4 separate regions of the Homo sapiens genome follow, and regions 1, 3 and 4 are each linked to region 2. The links are contacts of gene promoters, found by promoter capture Hi-C in blood cells and fetal thymus (Javierre and others, 2016). All regions are on one chromosome and are shown on one strand. The core of a region is centred on a gene start or on the middle of the fragment in contact, and the rest is flanking DNA. Distances in the headings are between cores, read along the strand shown. Region 1 has its middle 3.1 kb from the start of NEK4. Region 2 holds the start of STIMATE (STIM activating enhancer). Region 3 overlaps SFMBT1 (Scm like with four mbt domains 1). Region 4 overlaps SFMBT1 (Scm like with four mbt domains 1).

Evidence for each region. The method cuts DNA at HindIII sites, captures the fragments that hold promoters and counts their contacts. A CHiCAGO score of 5 or more calls a contact.
Region 1: a fragment that was not itself captured here is called in contact with the fragment with the promoter of STIMATE in region 2 in 2 of 17 cell types (M0 macrophages and total B cells); the score reaches 5.3 in M0 macrophages.
Region 3: a fragment that was not itself captured here is called in contact with the fragment with the promoter of STIMATE in region 2 in 1 of 17 cell types (M2 macrophages); the score reaches 5.3 in M2 macrophages.
Region 4: a fragment that was not itself captured here is called in contact with the fragment with the promoter of STIMATE in region 2 in 1 of 17 cell types (total B cells); the score reaches 5.1 in total B cells.

The regions. Positions count from the first base shown.
Region 1 is chr3:52,772,422-52,775,571 of GRCh38, forward strand. No RefSeq gene overlaps it. Among named protein-coding and RNA genes, the nearest start is that of NEK4, 3.1 kb to the left of the region's middle. The HindIII fragment of the contact is 6,310 bases long and covers 1-3,150 here.
Region 2 is chr3:52,896,038-52,898,831 of GRCh38, forward strand. STIMATE (STIM activating enhancer) reads right to left here and starts at 1,511. Exons shown (of 8, transcript NM_198563.5): 1 at 1,254-1,511. The coding sequence starts at 1,413. It overlaps STIMATE-MUSTN1 (STIMATE-MUSTN1 readthrough), which reads right to left and starts at 1,511. Exons shown (of 10, transcript NM_001198974.3): 1 at 1,254-1,511. The coding sequence starts at 1,413. RefSeq lists a silencer at 1,064-1,773. The HindIII fragment of the contact is 2,208 bases long and covers 589-2,794 here.
Region 3 is chr3:52,983,518-52,986,323 of GRCh38, forward strand. The region is part of intron 1 of SFMBT1 (Scm like with four mbt domains 1); the gene reads right to left. Among named protein-coding and RNA genes, the nearest start is that of SFMBT1, 61 kb to the right of the region's middle. The HindIII fragment of the contact is 1,152 bases long and covers 807-1,958 here.
Region 4 is chr3:53,014,469-53,017,660 of GRCh38, forward strand. All of the region lies in intron 1 of SFMBT1 (Scm like with four mbt domains 1), which reads right to left. Among named protein-coding and RNA genes, the nearest start is that of SFMBT1, 30 kb to the right of the region's middle. The HindIII fragment of the contact is 237 bases long and covers 1,481-1,717 here.

The DNA of each region.
Region 1 (3,150 bases), core at 616-3,115, 120 kb before region 2:
GCCAGGCATTAAAATGATGAAAATAGATTTTATTCAGTAACTACTGACAGTAGGGGAAGCAGCTGAACTCCATTCCATTTGCGCAGGGGTGATTGGGCATTCCAAAGGAAGAATAAGGGAGTAGGCAGGGGAGCATGCAGGGGCTCACTTAGAGTCTGGGAAGTGAAAAATTAAAAGGAGTGCTTAGCGTAAATGTGATTAGGCCAACTGTGTCTGCTAGCTGGCAATTAGGGAAGTTAGGATTCTATTCTCCCACATAGACTGGGAGACATGAGCCCTACCTTTATGATGATTACATTCCAAAGGAATGGATTTCAGGTCCTTGAGAAAGACATTCCTAGGTTGTAGGAAATACATAGGTATATATCTCAGAGGGACAGAGGAAGGATTTGTAATTGTAGCTTTTTAAAGTTAGTGCTCTAGAGGCCACACACTATGACTCACACCTAATCCCAGCACTTTGAGAGGCCAAGGTGGGAGGATCACTTGAGACCAGCCTACGAAACACAGTGAGACCCCCTTCTCTACAAAAAATTTTTAAAATTAGCTGGGTGTGGTGGCGCATGCCTGTAGTCCCAGCTACCTGGGAGGCTGAGGTGGGAGAATCAGTTGAGCCTCGGAGGTTGAGGCTGCAGTGAGCCATGATCCTGCCACTGCACTCCAGCTGAGTGACAGAGTGAGACTCTGTCTCAAAATAAATAAATTTTTAAAAAGGAAGGATGTTCTGACATGCTACAACATGGACGACCCCTGAGGACATTATGCTAAACAAAATAAGGCAGTCACAGAGGACAAAAGTATGATTTCGCTTATGTGAGGTACCTGTAGTAGTCAAAGTCATAGATTCAGAAAGTAGAATGGTGGTTGCCAGTTGTTGGAGAGAGGAGGGAATTGGTGGTTGGTGTTTAATGGGTGCAGAGTTTTAGCTGGGGAAAATGAAAAAGTCCTGGAGATGGATGGTGGTGATGGATGCAAAACATGAATGTACTTATGCCACCGAACTGTATTCTTAAAAATGGTTAAATAATAAATTTTATGTTTTGTATATTTTACCACAATAAAAAATTATGGCACACTGCTCCTGTAATCCCAGCTACTCAGGAGGCCGAGGCATGAGAATCACGTGAACCCGGGAGGCGGAGATTGCATTGGGCCAAGATCATGTCACTGCACTCCAGCCTGGGCGACAGAGCAATACTCCTTCTAAAAAAAAAAAAAAAAAAAAAAACCTATCATTCATTCTACAGACATTTAGCAAGGGTCTACTAGCCTGGACCTGGAGGACAACTATGAACAAGACAGACAAGGGCCTGCCCATGTGGGGCTTACTGTCGAAGAGGGAGACGGCCATGCATACTAACAAGCTACCCTTGCCAACTGAGGTCAGTACTGTTCAGAAAAGCCGCCAGGCCCAGCCTGGCCATCCAGGAGAGGTTGCCCCAAGCAAGCACCGCATGAGTGGAAGTTTAAACAAAAACTTTTTCAGGCAGAGGAGCAACATGTGCTAAGATCCAGTGGATTCATTTTGTGACTTTACCTCCACACCGCAATGTGAACTCCCTGAGGACGAGGCCAGGCCTGTCTGCTTCAACACCCTAAACCCAGCAGGTATAAATGAAGGAATTGCCGCTTGCTGAATGAATGAATGGAGAAGCACCTGCCTACCTGGATCTAAAAGAAGTCTCTGCAGTTGAAGCTGAGAGACTCAGAGGGGCCATGGGCTAGGTGACATAGAGGGGTCAGCAGGGGCCATACCACTCAGGATAGGGTGTGCGAGACAGGGAAAGGCCTGCGGCAGACTGACCTTTCTAAATGGTGACTCTGGCTGCTGCCTGGAGCAGAGCAGAAGGAGGAGATGAGCCGTCTAAATGAGGGATGAGGGCAGCTTGAACTAGGTGGTGACGGGGGATGGGGAGAGAAGTTAATGGATTAGAGGGATATTCAGAGGGTGGGAGGTGGGGTAGGTGGTCAAGGAGACTGAGGCACCCAGGATGCCACCCAGCCTTCTGGCTTGGATGGCCAACTAGATGGCGGTGGCCTTGACTGGAGTGGACAACAGGGGGAAGATCTGGCTTAGTAACGGGGTGTGGGGAGGAGGAGACAAAGGTCAGGAGTTCAGTTTGGACATACCAGATGGAGGGGCTGTGGGCACATCAAGCAGACAGTTGGCTGTGTGTGGGTGGCGCTCAGAGCAGGTCTGGGCCCATGTGCTGTCCCACCGGCACCAGCAGCACAGCTACACTCCCCATTCTCAATCCTCAGCAACCATAGCTGCTTTCTGTCCACCCTGGCCCCCACCTCCCACATGCATATGGTGGGCCAACGTCTCTTTCTCTGTACCATGAGGATAATAGTAACAATAATATCTGTCTCTTGTGGGGAGTTGTGAGCAGTAAATGAATTCGGACGTGATGCTAAGAAGCATGACAGGCACAGGTCATAGTTAGCTCTCCCCATCTCCTGTCCACCCTCCCCCTGTGCAAACATGCTTCTAGCACTTTACATGGACCAGGCTTGGTGCTAGCCATCTCTCAACAGCCCAGTCTTGAACTCATCACACCCTTGCTTAAAATATCTTAAGTATCTCCCACCCAAAAGGCTAATCACTTTCAGACCCCTGCGCCAGCTGGTCCCAACCCCCTTCCCAGCCACCTTCCCTACCCTCTTCATCAGCTCCTGCTCCCATCCCAGACACCTCTACCTTCCCACAGCATACATCCCACCTGCCCGTCTGCTTTTCTCTCCCTCCCTTCCCGCCTTCCCCTTCCCAAGCACTGCTCTTTTTTCCAGGCACCTCATCCAGGAACCTTCTCCTAATCCCTGCAGGAGATGAGCCTCTGCCCCTCCAAATTTCTATCTCTTCAGCTTCTCATCACTCCTTGGGATTCAGTGGGCTCCCTTTGACTTGTCTGATTCCCTTTTCCCCTGACATCAGCTCACTGAACACAGCAGGGCACTCAGGTTTCTGTATGGTGGCCTCTCAGTGCCTGGCATTGTGCCCAACACACTGCAGGGCTTGGTCGATACTGGTGCAGGAAATAAGCAGAACTTCAAATGTACACTGTCATGTCGATCCAGCTTCTCTTCTACAAAGGCCAGAAGACAGGCCAGAAGGTGACCGTGGCCTAAGGACAATAAACTCTTCCCAGA
Region 2 (2,794 bases), core at 261-2,760:
TAGACAGTTGGGCACTTATAAGACTTATCAAGGACAGGCCACCAGAAGAACGCGGTATCCATGATCAGAGCCTCTTCAGGGTTACTTAAAGCCTGAGAGAATTCACTCAAAGAAACCCCAAGTTATAAACAAGCAAGGTGGCCACTCCAGCAACTGGACCCCACAAGACAAAGGCACACAGCTGCAAGATCCCTCCTGAGTACCCCAAAGCATACTTTCTGCAGGAACTCTCCACTCTGTCCACACAAGCACAGTGGGGAAGTTTTGAGAACAAGTCATTTTTGGAATTAATGACTCTGCACAGATAGTTATAACCTTTCCTTCCCCCTAAAACGCAGTCACAAGGGCACTCCTAGGCTTACATGTCGAGCAAAACTTCTTGTTACTTTAATAAGGGAAGGATGCACACGATGAAAAACAGAAGCCCCCCCCCACCCCCCATCAGCACACATGAGAACAGGGTGGGGGCTTCCTTCTCTATTCAGCCACTAAGGTGCCCAAGTTTAATGGAAAAGGAAACTTAAAATATAAAGAATAAAAGTGGAAAGGGAACAGCCAGGGGAAGCTATAGATGCGGCTTATTAGGAAAGCTTGGGACAGAGATGGAACAGGTGGGCCTGTTCCGGAAGAAACGAGAGGAAGGGGATCTGGGGAAGAAGGCAGACTGGGTGGGTCCTACCCTGACAAAAGGGAAACTAAAGCTGAGGAAGAAGGGCCACGGAGAGGGAGGCGGGTACTGGGAAACGGAAGGCATGGCCCTAACACTCCAGGTGTTGAGAGGGATGCAAAGTAGCAGGATTTAAATGTGAACGGAGAAGGCAGATCCTTGAAGAGTGAAGGGGCAGAAAAGAGCTCAGCATCGCACTGGGGATTGAGGGATGTGGGTTCTAAGCACGAAGAGCCCCTGAGAAGGGGCGGACAAGGGGATGTCACCCTTGGGGGTCATGATTCCAGGCTGGGAAGTGGGGTAACAATTCGAGATGGTAAGGTGGGAGGTAGGCGAGTTTTAGACTGGCGTCTCAAAAGACAGACGTTTAAGGTGGAAAGGGGAAGGGTCACTCCTGTCTGGAGGCCACAGCGAGTAGGTGAGGGGCTCGGGCTACCCCTAGTGCAGGAATACCCAGCCTGGGTTTGCGGGGGAGGAGCAATTCGGGTCCCAAGGCCTGAACTCTCCGCGCAGGAGGGGCCCCCAGGGGGGCCGGGCCGCGGCTGCCGCGCAGGGCCTCCGGAGGGTCGGGGGGTCCCAGACTCACGCATTAACGTGCTGAAGGCCACGACGCCGAGCAGCCCCTGCAGGAAGATGCCGAAGCTGTGCATGAGCGCGCCGCTCTCGCAGCGGCCCGCCCCGGACGCGACTGTGGAGGGCGGCCCGCCTGGCAGTCCCCGGCTCGCGTTCCCGGCGGGGCCCTGCATGACAGGCCTCGCGGGAGGGGCGCGAGGGCCCAGGGCCCGCCCGGCCTCGCTGCCTGCCGGCGCAGCGCCGCCAAACCCGCAGCCGGGATCCCAAGCCTGAGCCGGTACCTCCGCCCGGCCGCCGACTCCGCGCCGCGCGTAACCCGACGTCTGAGATCGCAGTGCCTGATTGGCGCAGCCAAGGTTGGGGCGGGCCTCGGCCGCGGCAGCTCTCCCCACCCGCCCCCGAGGGGCGGGGCTCCGGCCGGGCCACGGGGCGGGGTCGCGGGTCCCGCTCCCCTCTCCAACCCCGCCACGCCCGCAGGTAGACAGGCCAGGTGAGCCGGCCACCGCAGACCGGAATGAGAGCCTGGGAATCACGAGCTCCAGGTCCGGAGGTAGGAGCTGGGACGGCCTGTGGTCAAATTATTTTTCCCTCTAAGGAAAATCCCTATATCCTGGAGAAATTATCATCATTCCTGAATTCCACCCTCAGAGATCGTGATTCAGTAGTTCTGGGGTGGGTCCCAATAGTTTGCAGCCTGGATTATTCTGAAGCAAGTGAATAAGGAAAACAATCTGAGACTGAGTACAGGAGTCTTCCCTCCAACCCAGACATTTGAGTCTTTTTCCTACTTCCCTAGCTAAAGGCTTATCAAGGCCCCAAGTCTATTTTCTTTTTTCATAGACATAATTTAAATGGTCACCTGAATCCAATCACTTTCATTTGGAAATATACCAGGTTTCACACTGAAAACCTGACGTGCACATGTCCCACCTTATTCACTTGGGGAGCACAACTACCTTTAGAGTGTAAAAGACAAATGGTTGGTATTTTCCAGGCTCCAACATCCCCCTGCACACACACACTCCCATCTAACCCTTTCCAACTTCTCAGAACCTGTGCTCTGCCTTTAACAAGACCCTGAGTCCCCATTCTCTCACCCATTCTCCCAGCCCAATCTGGGCTCTCTCTGGATACCTTCTTGTTGGTGCTCTAGAGCCGCTGACCTTCCTGCTGCAGAATGTCAGTGAACACATGGTGTAAGTCCAGTTGACACTCACCCATTCTCCCAGCCCAATCTGGGCTCTCTCTGGATACCTTCTTGTTGGTGCTCTAGAGCCGCTGACCTTCCTGCTGCAGAATGTCAGTGAACACATGGTGTAAGTCCAGTTGACACTCACCCATTCTCCCAGCCCAATCTGGGCTCTCTCTGGATACCTTCTTGTTGGTGCTCTAGAGCCGCTGACCTTCCTGCTGCAGAATGTCAGTGAACATATGGTGTAAGTCCAGTTGATACTGAGCTACGTGTTTTCAACGGTAAATATCATCTCTAGGAAAAAGTTTCCTATTAAATAGCCCCCCAAATTCCAATTACCTAAGAGGGTTATATGCTAGCTA
Region 3 (2,806 bases), core at 133-2,632, 87 kb after region 2:
GAATGAAAACAAATGTTAGGAGAAAAAAACTGAACAAGGGAGGAGGACAGGGAGTCCTACTTTTAACAGAGTGATCAAAGCCTTAGTGTTGAGGTAACACAAAACAACACCAGAGGGAAATGAGGAAGTGAGCCATGTGGGTACGTGCGGAAGAATATTCAAGGCAGAAAAACAAAAAGAGCAAAGTCTCTGAAGTGGGAGCTTGTGTGGCGTATTTGAGGCCACAGTGGTTGGAACAAAATGATCACAGCAGAGATGCTAGGAGATGAACTCAGGAAGCTATCAGGGAGTCATATTTTATATGAACTTGCAGGCTGCTGTGAAGATTTTGGCTTTGGGGAAGCCATTGAAGGATTCTGAGCAGAGGAGGAACATAATTTGATTTATCTTTTAAAAGGATCACTCTGCAGCTATGTGAGAAGAAAGCAAGAGCAGAAGCAGGAAGACCAACTAAAAAGACCACAGAATAATCCAAGTGAAAGGTGTTGGTGGCTAGGTCTAGGACAGGAGAAGTGAAAATGTGGAGGAAGATGTAAGATGGATTTGGTGTATGAGAGAAAGAGCAGTATCTGGGCTGACTGAAGTTTCTGGCTTAAGCAACTGGAAGGATAGAACTGCCACTTATGGAAAAAGGGAAGTCTGAAGTAGGAATGGTTTGAGGAAGAAAAATTATGATGAGCTTCAGTGCAAAATAGGGCAATATGATTACTTCCCTCACCACTAAAGGTTTGTTCTTGGAGTTTTCAGGAAAATGTTTTCAATCAACAAAAGTATAATTACTATCTGTGTAGTGTCTCCAATTTATAAGCTTTTTTTCACCCACGATGCTTCATTTGAACATCATAAAAAACTTTTTTAGACAGCAAGAATGGGGCCAATTCTTTTTTTTTTTGCCCCTTGGGAACCTCCTTGTTGGCTTCAATCCCATCTTACATTTCACGTTCTCTAGGTTTACCAATCAGCCTTGAAGGCATTTCCCCATAGCAATTCAGTAATTTATGCTGCCTTGTTTTTTAACATTCCAATTTCAACACCCACATACTTTCCAATACAGGCACTTCAATGACAAATTTTCTAGCTTTCTTTAATGTATGTCTTTCAATAATCTCAGGCATAAATAATCTTTAAAAATTCATACTATAATGAATACTATATTGAATATAGGTAATATATATTATTATAATATATACTGAATACTATACTAAATACTGTGTGTGTGTGTGTGTGTGTGTGTGTGTGTGTGTGTGTGTGTCTATTCATACTATAATGATTCATACTATAATGAGTTTGGAAATATCAGGCTGACCACCCTATAAATCCCTGGTCCACAGTTGGCTAAGTATGACCACTTCGCAGCCCGGCTTCCTTAGCAATTACTGATTAGTACCAGGATATTGAGCACCTCCTCTTTGCCAGATACCAAGACGACTAAATTGCAGTTTTGAAATTATCTTTCACTGTACCAGAATATGTCAAAAGCATTTAAAATCATTCTTTATCCTTATATTATCTTATAGGCTGGAACGGTAGCTCTTCCAGAGTTCAAATATGATTACATTTTCATCAATTAAATGCTTTATTTATGGGAGCCAGTAACATGAGCACATGTTGAAACAGTATGTCTTTGTTCTGATTAAATCAGGAGCTATTTGATTCACCAACACAAGCACTGTCAAAACATACCAATTCCAATAGTATTATAAAAAGATTATAGGAAAAGACCATGTTCAGTTATGAAAAGACTTGAAATTATTCTGTAATTTCATGGTTGCTGTTTCTCAGCTTTCTCATGTCAAGTCACAGATCAGAAACTTCATCTCAACAGAACAAATGCTTGTTAACCATTTATCAAGAAAAAAGAAAAGATTATTTGAGTACCTACTATGTATGTGCCTGGCACTTTTTATGTATTGTATACTAAATAATTAGGCACACAGAACACTGTCCAACACATGGTAAGCTTAATATTTAAGTGTTTATTATTTTTTAATAATCTTTTATTTAATCCTATTCTGCTTAACTCATACAATGATAATTCCATTTTACAGATGAGGAAAAGTTAACATGTCAGTTCATACACAGTCATGCATCGCTTAATAATGAGGATATGTTCTGAGAAATTTGTTGTTTGGCAATTTTGTCATTATTCGAACATCATAGGGTATACTTACGCAAACCTAGATGGTGCGGCCTACTATACACCTAGGCTATACGGTGTAGCCTATTGCCCCTAGGCTACAAACCTGTAGGCAACTGTAACACAATGGTAAGTATTTGTGTATCTAAACATATTTAAACATAGGAAAGGTGTAGTCAAAATATATCATAAAAGATAAAAAATGAGGCCAGGCGAGGTGGCTCACGCCTGTAATCCCAGCACTTTGGGAGGCCAAGGTGGGCAGATCATTTGAGGTGAAGAGTTTGAGACCAGCCTGGCCAACATGGTGAAACCCCGTCTCTACTAAAAATACAAAAATTAGCTCGGTGTGGTAGTGGGCGCCTGTAGTCCCAGCTACTCAGGAGGCTGAGGCAGGAGAATTGCTTGAACCTGGGAGGTGGAGGTTGCAGTGAGCTGAGATCATGCCACTACACTTCAGCCTGGGAGACAGAGTGAGACTCCGTCTCAGGAAAAAAAAAAAAAAAAAGATAAAAAATGGAACACTTATATAGGGCACTTATCATGAATGGAGCTTGCAGGACTGGGAAGTTGTTCTGGGTGAGTCAGTCAGTGGTGAGTGAATGTGAAGGCCTGGGATATTACTGTATACTACTGTAGACTTTCTAAACACTGCACATGTAAGCCACA
Region 4 (3,192 bases), core at 349-2,848, 120 kb after region 2:
ATTTAAAAAAAACAAAACAAAACAAAACAAAACAAAACAAAACAAAACAAAACAGTTTCTAGAACCACCACCCAATGAATCAACTAACAAGAAGAAACCTATCTGAGAGCTTTTACTGATAACAGATCTTCATAAAAAGCTCTGGAGACCAACAGTAGTACATCTAGTCTACCTTATAAACTGTACAACTATTTTTACAATATTCTTTATTTTCGCAACACAAAATCAGGTGTCACAGTCTCTGACAGGGGTGAGTCCTAGGCTCTCTTGGGACTAGACTCTAAAGGACAGGCCCTCAGTGTGTGATGGAGTGAGTGAATGAATAAAGACACAGCCAGCATAAATGTTAATACAGCAGAGAGAAACTATGAATCTGGAGGACCCCCAAAATGAAAGCATAAAGCAACCTCCCTCAACAAATGTCATTTAAAAAGCCAGAATCATGTTTGAGTTATATAAAAAGTAATAGGACCGGGAGCAGTGGCTCATGCCTGTAATCCCAGCACTTTGGGAGGCTGGCACAGCAGATCGCTTGAGCCCAGGAGTGGGAGGCCAGCCTGGGTAACATGGTGAAACCTCGTCTCTACAAAACTTAGCTGGGCATGGTGGTGTACGCCTGTAGTCACAGCTACTGAGGAGGCTGAGTGGAAGGATCATTTGAACTCAGGAGGCAGAGGTTGCAGTGAGCCAAGATCATGCCACTGCACTCCAGCCTGGGTGACAGGTGAGAGAGACCCTGTCCCAAGGAAAAAAAAAAAAAATCATTGTATTTTAATTGGCAATACCCCAATTAAAGCTACAAGAATGGTTATCATAAAAAAAAAATAGAGAATAACAAGTGCTGTCAAGGATGTGGAGAAACCAGAAGGTAAAATGGTATAGGCAATTTGAAAAAACAGTTTGGCAGTTCTTCAAAAAGTTAAACATAAGAGTTACCATAGACCCAGCAATTCCACTCCTAGGTATATACCCAAGAGAAATGAAAACAAATGTTCACACAAAAACTTGTATAGCAATGTTCACAGCAGCATTACTGACAACAGCCAAAATGTACAAACAACCCAAATGTTCATCAACTGATGAGTAGATAAATAAGATGTGACATAGCCATATAGTAGACTATTATCTGGTAATAAAAACAAATGAAATACTGATACACACACAATATGGATGAACTTCAAAAACTTTATGCTAAATTAACACCAGGTCCAAAAGACCACATATTATATGATATCATTTACACAAAATGTCCACCATAGGCAAATCTAGAGAGACAGAAAGTAAATTAGTGGTTGCCTTAGGCTGAAAAAGCAGGGAAAGGGCATAACTGCTAATGGGTACAAGGTTTTTTTTCTGGAATAATGAAAATGTTCTAAAATTAGATTATCATGATGGTTACACTACCCTGTAAATATACTGAAAACCAATGAATTGTATACTTTAAGTAGGTGATTTTCCTCTTATTTTTTAAATAAGAAAAAGCTTACAATTGTTTGCTTCTCATTTTTCTTCTTCACACAGCAAGGCCTGCAGTAGGGAAGACTTATTTCATCAAGAACAGTATACTATGGTTTTTCTTTGATTTAGAATACTGTCTTTCTAGCACCCTACTTTTAGCAGTAAAAGAAAATAAAGTTAGGAATTTCTAACATTTAGAAAATAATCATTAATAAATTAAAGGACAAAGTGAAAAAAAAAAACAAAACCCAGAACTTTAAGCTTACACCTCTAACTCCAAAGCAGGAGGAATTTGCTTGGTCCAGCTCAGCACACCAGACACTACTACACTCTCTGAGCTCTAATAACACTTACCATCATAGTCTTGATCATGGATTGCGGTGCGAACCTCCAGAGATTGCCTCAAGCCAAAGACATGTCAATCTAGCTGAGGTCAGGGTGAACATATATCCAACTTTCAAAGCATACAATCAATGTCCAACCTTCCCAATGTGGTTGTATCAACACACATACCACAAGCGTGAATAACAGCTCCAGTGGCTCTACGTACTCAGTGACAGTGGGTTTTAAAATTCCTGCAAATCTAGTGAGTGTGTAATGACATATCCCCGTGTTTTAATTTGCATCCCCCAATTAAAGTGAGACAATGCCTTTTCTTATGTTTACTGACCACTGGATTCCCTCTTTTGAGAAGTGCCTTCTCAAGTCATTTTCCTACTGGGCTGTCTTCCTTATTTATTGATTTGAAGGAATTCCTCACATATTCTGACAGTTCTATGTGATTATTTATTCTCCCATTCTGTGGCTCATTTTTTCACTCTCTTTATGTCGTCTGTTGATAATGGTTTTAATTTTAATGTAGTCATATTTATCAACCCTTTCCTTTACAGTTAGTGCTTTTTGCCTCTTATTTTAAGAAATTCTTCCCCATTCTGAAACCACAAAGATCTTCGCTTATTGTTTTGCCTTTCACATTGGAAATTTCTATTTTGATTCACATTGGAAAGATCCAATTTCCTTTTTATTTTTCCCATCTGTAAAACTGATTATTGTTAACTAGATTCGTCTCCAGTGTCTAGACTTATATAACCACTAAGAAAAATAGGAACGAATGAGATCCTCCTTTTGTTGAGGATCTACTATGCTACTATGCTGAGTACTTTATATACAGTATACAAATATACAGTAATTCTGCAAAGTACATTATTACTAGTCCCATCTTAAAGAAAATGAAACTAAGGCTAAGAAACACACCCAAGCTGTTAGAAGATAAAGATGGGATCCATGCCTGTCTAATCTAGTGCCCATAATATTTCTGCACACCATACTACTTTAGGTAAGAATGTGATCTCTGGATAAAACAGGAAATATTTTCATTTTGAGGATGTTGCAGTCACTTTACTCTCCAGGTCCACTAGTATAGTGACACTTATTTTTTATTTGGCAGTTCTTTTATTAATTCACTCAACAGGTATTTCTTGAATTCCTACTACCTGCTAGGTACTGTTCCAGGATCCAGGGATGAAATAGTGAGCAAAACAAAATCCCTACCCTCTTGGGGGTTTATAGGCTAATCAGATCAGAAGTGTAGTCTCCCATGTCTATTCTACATTAAGTCTTACACAGTTAGTAAAGGAAACCTTCCTCCAACAGAAGAGTGACAGGACTGCAACATGAAGCACTCTCATGGAACAAGAAGGAACTTAAAGAGCAACTTGGAGAAATACCAGTACT